Linked DNA regions of Homo sapiens: region 2 is linked to region 1. The links are contacts of gene promoters, found by promoter capture Hi-C in blood cells and fetal thymus (Javierre and others, 2016). All regions are on one chromosome and are shown on one strand. Each heading gives the region's core, a stretch centred on a gene start or on the middle of the fragment in contact. The rest is flanking DNA. Distances are from core to core; before and after follow the strand shown.

Region 1 (2,892 bases), core at 393-2,892:
GTTGATCTATTTCATCTCTTTAAACTGGTTAAGACAATAGCGAAGACTTGGCCGTGTGTGGTGCCTCACACCTGTAATCCCAGCATTTTGGAAGGCCGAGTAGGGAGAACCACTTGAGTTCTAGATGAGCCTGGGCAACATAGCAAGACCCCTGCCTCTACAATTAAAAAATTAAAAATGGCCGGGCGCGTTGGTGCACGCCTGTAATCCCAGCACTTTGGGAGGCCGAGGCGGGTGGATCACTTGAGGTCAGGAGTTTGAGATCAGCCTGGCCAACATGGTGAAACCCCGTCTCTGCTAAAAAATACAAAAATTAGCCAGGCTTGGTGGTGGGCACCTGTAATCCCAGCTACTCAGGAGGCTGAGGCAGGAGAATCGCTTGAACCCAGGAAGCAAAGGTTGCAGTGAGTCGAGATCGCACCACTGTACTCCAGCCTGGGTGACAGAGTAAGACTCTGTCTAAAAAGATAAAAATAAAAATTAAAAAATTAAAAATTAGCTGGGCATTGTATTGCAGGCCTGTAGTCCCAGCTACTCAGGAGGCAGAGGCTGAAGGATCGCTTGAGCCCAGGGGAATGAGGTTACAGTGAGCTATGATCCTGCCATTACAGGCCAACCCAGAGAGATCCTATGTCAAAAATGAATAAATACCCTGGTGTGGTCGCTCTCGCCTGTGATCCCAGGACTTTGGGAGGCTGAGGCGGGAAGATGACTTGAGTCCAGGAGTTTGAGACCAGCCTGGGCAACATGGCAAAACCCCATCTCTACAAAAAAAATACAAAAAATTAGCCGGGTGTGGTGGCGTGGGCCTGTAGTCCCAGCTACTCAGGAGGCTGAGGTGGGAGAATTGCTTGAGTCAGGGATAGGGAGGTGGCAGTGAGCCCATATCGTGCCACTGCACTCCAGCCAGGGTAACAGAGCAAGAACTCATCTCAAAAATAAAAAATAAAAATAGGTGGCTGGGCGTGGTGGCTTACACCTGTAATCCCAGCTACTTGGGAGGCTGAGGTGGGAGAATCACTTGAACCCAGGAGGTGGAGGTTGCAGTGAGCCGAGATCGCATCACTGCACTCCAGCCTGGAAGACAGAGCAAGACTTTGTCTCAATAATAATAATAAAAATAATAATAGTCCAGGCACAGCTCATGCCTGTAATCCCAGCATTTTGGGAGGCCGAGGCAGATGGATCGCTTGAGGTCAGGAGTTGGAGACCAGCCTGGCCAACATGGCGAACCCCAGTCTCTACTAAAAATAAAAAATAAAAAAAAAAAAATTAGCCAGGCATAGTGGTGCGCACCTGTAATCCCAGCTACTCAGGAGGCTGAGGCAGGAGAATCGCTTGAACCCGGGTGTCAGAAGTTGCAGTGAGCCGAGATCAAGTCACTGCACTCCAACCTGGGTGACAGAGTGAGACTCCATCTCAAAAAAAAAGAAGAAAAAAATAAAAAAGAAAGACTCGTTGCCCAGTGCTCCCTCTGGGAGAAGTACATCCAAGGCCCTGGCCCTGGGAGAAAGGCTCTGGCACTAACCCCACCCTTGACCTTTTTCCTGGGCGGTCCTGAAGAATGTTCTGTCCCTTCTCCAAGGCCCCCAGCTGGGACGGCCCAGGCGCCTATAAAGGGGGTCCCCGCTTGGCCCCGGCGCCACCCACCACCATGGACCCCCGTCTGCCCGCCTGGGCGCTGGTGCTGCTGGGCCCTGCCCTGGTGTTCGCGTTGGGCCCCGCGCCCACCCCAGAGATGCGTGAGAAGTTGTGCGGCCACCACTTCGTACGCGCGCTAGTGCGCGTGTGCGGGGGCCCCCGCTGGTCCACCGAAGCCAGGAGGCCTGCGACCGGAGGCGACCGTGAGTGGGGACGGGCAGGGACAGCGCTCTGGGAAGCCGAGGTGGGGCAGGTGCACGTAGGCGCAGATGCACACGTGCAGGGAGGTGGGCAGGTTTGCATGCATGTGCCCAGGGCTCACCTGCCGGCTGCGTGCACAGATCGTGGGTCCGCACTGGAGTGTGTGTGAACGCGCGTGTGAAAGTCCCCAGAGCCGTTAGCCAGGCGTGGTGGCTCACGCCTGCAATCCCAGCACTTTGGGAGGCTGAGGCGGGTGGATCCCCAGAGGTCAGGAGTTCGAGACCAGCCTGGCCAAAATGGTGAAACCCCATCTCTACTAAAAATAATTTTTAAAAAAATTAGCCGGGGATAATGATGCACATCTGTAATCCCAGCTACTTGGGAGGCCAAGGCAGGAGAATCGCTTGAACCCGGAAGGCAGAGGTTGCAGTGGGCCGATATCATGCCATTGCACTCCAGCCTGGGCGACAGAGTGAAACTCCGTCTCAAAAAAAAAAAAAAAAGAAAGTCCTCAGAGCATGAGTCCCCCTGAGGGGCCAGAAACAGAGTGAGGCAGGAGAGGTAGGCTCTTGCAAGTACATGGTGAGATCCTGTCTTAAAATTTCAATATTTTGATCTTCATGAATTTTTGCCTTAATTTTGCTTTGTTTGTTTGTTTTTTGAGACAGGGTCTCACTCTGACGCCCAGGCTGGAGTGCAGTGGTGAGATCTCGGCTCACTGCAGGCTCAACCTCCTGGGCTCAAACCATCCTCCTGCCTCAGCCTCTGGAGTGGCTGGGATACAGGTGCTGCCACCACACCCAGCTAATTTTTTTTTCTTTTTCGTAGAGAGGGAGTCTCACTCTGTTTCCCAGGCTGGTCTCAAACTCCTGAGCTCAAGTAATCCTCCCACCTTGACCTTCCAAAGTGTTGGGATTAGCGATGTGAGTCACTGTGTCCAGCTTTAAAAGTATTTAAAAGTATTGCTTTTGAAAAGTATTGCTTTTCACAATTATGTTACTTTATTTTATTATTTTATTTTTATTTATTTATTTTGAGACATAGCCTCGC
Region 2 (3,222 bases), core at 47-2,546, 190 kb after region 1:
GTGAATGAATTGATGAAGGGATGGTTGGATGGGTGGATAATGGGTGGATGGATGAATAGATAGATGGGTACATGGATGGGTGGACAGTTGCATGAGTGGGTGAATGAATGGATGGAAGGATGGATGAATGGATGGAGGAATAGATAAATGAGTTGTTGAATGTATGGGTGGATAGTTGCATGAGTGGATGAATGAATGAATGGAGGGACAAATGGATGAGTGGGTGGAGGCTCAAAGGGAAACAAAGCCTTAGTGCAGAGTCAGTCAGCAGTGGCTATGAGGGAACCTGAACCCAAATCCCTCTACCCTACCCTACACTCCTCTGTGGGGCAGGGAAGGACAAAGCAGCCCATCCCATCTGCCTTCTGCCTGCCAAAGTTTTATACTTCCATGACTTTGCCAGGTTTCCCCAGGAGCTGAATGTGGGTAAAATCAGCGCTGAAGTGATGTGGAATCTGTTTGCCCAAGACATGAAGTACGCCATGGAGGGTGAGTTTCCCACCCCAGTGTTCCCCAGCCTGGCCACACCAGGTGGCTGTACCTCTGTGTCCCCTCCAAGGCTGTGAGCACCCTATAATACCCTCATGCCTGAGTTGGAAATCAGTGATGGCCAGAGTAGGCAGCCTCTCTGCCGAGACAGAGGGTGGCAGACCCTTCCAGCTGTGCCATCCTCTTTGTCCCTGGCCAGAGCACGACAAGCATCGTCTATGCAAGAGTGCCGACTACATGAACCTCCACTTCAAGGTGAAATGGCTCTACAATGAGTATGTGACGGAACTTCCCGCCTTCAAGGACCGCGTGCCTGAGTACCCTGCGTAAGTCCCCTGCCCCAGGCCCAACCCAAGCCAGAACTGTAGCACTGACAGCTAGAAGGAAAGCCAGAGAGGAAGACTGACCTACTTAGGGTTACCTGGGCATCAGGGGCATGGGTGGGGCTTGAATCCAGTGTTCTCCACTCTCAGCCATTGAGCAGTTGACTCCTACAGCCCAGAAAATTCAGTCAACAGCAACAGGAACCATGTGACTTTCTCATTTTATCCTTTTGACAATTCTATGAGTTAAGGTGGGATCATTTTAATTCCTATTTTGCGGAGGAGAAATTGGAGAGTTAAAGATGCCAAATGGCCAGGCATGGTGGCACATGCCTGTAGCCCCGGCAATCTGGGAGACTGAGGCAGGACTTGCTTGAGCCCAGGAGTTCGAGACCAGCCTGGAAAAGATAGTCAGATCCCATCTCTAAAATTAATGAATGGGTCAGGCACAGTGGCTTGTGCCTGTAATCCCAGGACTTTGGGAGGCCGAAGTGGGCAGATCACCTGAGGTCAGGAGTTCGAGACCAGCATAGCCAATAGGGCGAAACCCCAGCTCTACAAAAATACAAAAATTGGCCGGGCGCAGTGGCTCATGCCTGTAATCTCAGCACTTTGGGAGGCCAAGGTGGGTGGATCACCAGAGGTCAGGAGTTTGAGACCGGCCTGGCCAACATGGTGAGACCCTGTCTCTACTAAAAATACAAAAATTAGCCAGGTGTGGTGGCAGATGCCTGTAATCCCAGCTACTTGGGAGGCTGAGGCATGAGAATTGCTTGAACCCAGGAGGCGGAGGTTGCAGTGAGCCGAGATTGCACCACTGGATTCCAGCTGGGGCAACAAAGTGAGACTCCGTCTCAAAAACAAAGAAAAAAATTATCCGGGTGTGATGGCACACACCTGTAGTCCCAGCTACTCGGGAGGCCGAAGCAGGAGGATCGCTTGAACTCAGGAGGCAGAGGTTGCAGTAAGCGGAAATCGTGTCACTGCACTCCAGCCTGGGCGACAGAGTGAGACTCCATTTCAAAAAATAAATAAATATAAAAATAAAATGAATGAGTGAATAAATGCCACATTCCTTGCCCACGGTGACTCCCAGTACATGACAGACCCGAGATTTGAACTCGGGACATCTGATTCCTGGGCTGTGTGTTGGAGGATAGTACGGTGCCGCCGGTTCCTGAGAATTGTGGTGTCGTTCTCTGCTCCCAGCAGCACAGGAGGATGGCTAGTCTTCTGTTGTACAAGAAACGAAAGCTCTGGCTGGATGCGGTGGCTCATTCCTGTAATCCCAACATTTTGGGAGGCCAAGGTGGGAGGATCACTTGAGGCCAGGAGTTCAAGGCCTGCCTGGGCAACACAGGGAAATCCTGTCTCTACAAAGAAGACAAAAAAAAAAATTAGCCGGGCATGGTGGCATGTGCCTGTAGTGCCAGCTATTCGGGAAGCTGAGGTGGGAGGATTGCTTGAACCCAGCAGGTCAAGGCTGCAGTGAGCTGTGATCGCACCACTGCACTTTAGCCTGGGCAACAGAACAAGACCCAGGAAGGAAGGAAGGAAGGAAGAAGGAAGGAAGGAAGGAAGGGAGGGAGGGAGGGAAGGAAGGAAAGGAGGGAGGGAGGGAGGGAGGGAGAAAACAAGAGCTCAGAGAATAAACCCACTTGCCATGGGCAGTTTATCTGAAGAAGGAAGGAAGGAAGGAAGGAAGGAAGGAGGGAGGGAGGGAGGGAAGGATGGACGGAGGACTCAGAGAGGACTCAGAGAATAAACCCACTTGCCATGGGCAGCTTATCTGAACTAGGATTCCCACAGGCCTGGGCCCTGTTGTAAAAGGGGCCACTCAATCTATTTCATGAGCAAAGTAACTGAGGTTCAGTGCAGGAGGCGAGCAGAGGAGCAGCCACTCAAGGCTGCAGGGAGAGCTCCAGGCAGAGCAGGAGCAGCCATAGCTCCACTCGTTAGTGGGTCAGAACCAGGCGGCGCAGAGGTTGAGGAGGACAAGAGGTGGCAGAGCCCCACCCCGGCTCTTCATTCCAGATGGTTTGAACCCTTCGTCATCCAGTGGCTGGATGAGAATGAGGAGGTGTCCCGGGATTTCCTGCACGGTGCCCTGGAGCGAGACAAGAAGGATGGGGTAAGAAGGCCCACCCACAACCAAGTTCCTAATCTTCCCACTGGGGTCAATTTAGGTGGAAATTTGCCCTTGAGATGAGGCCAGTCTCTGGTAGGTGTCCGCCATCTTTGTCTTGCTCATGGTTTTTAAAATCTTTTGTTCATTCATCAACTACAAAATGTGAGTTCCATCAAGCCGGACACCTCCAGGCACCCCATGGCTTCTGCGTCCACCTCTAGAGTTGACTCTAAGTCTACCTCGCCCTCTGTCCATCTCACCCCGGGGAAATTGGTCTCTGGC

What was found. Contacts are between HindIII fragments. The CHiCAGO score rates a contact against its expected background, and 5 or more counts as called.
Region 2: a fragment that was not itself captured here is called in contact with the fragment with the promoter of INSL3 in region 1 in 1 of 17 cell types (M0 macrophages); the score reaches 5.4 in M0 macrophages.

What each region holds. Positions count from the first base shown.
Region 1 is chr19:17,820,269-17,823,160 of GRCh38, reverse strand. It overlaps INSL3 (insulin like 3), which reads left to right and starts at 1,642. Exons shown (of 2, transcript NM_005543.4): 1 at 1,642-1,844. The coding sequence starts at 1,655. The HindIII fragment of the contact is 12,026 bases long and covers 1-2,892 here.
Region 2 is chr19:17,630,375-17,633,596 of GRCh38, reverse strand. It overlaps UNC13A (unc-13 homolog A), which reads left to right. Exons shown (of 44, transcript NM_001080421.3): 27 at 404-489; 28 at 689-815; 29 at 2,847-2,943. Among named protein-coding and RNA genes, the nearest start is that of UNC13A, 56 kb to the left of the region's middle. The HindIII fragment of the contact is 8,105 bases long and covers 1-3,222 here.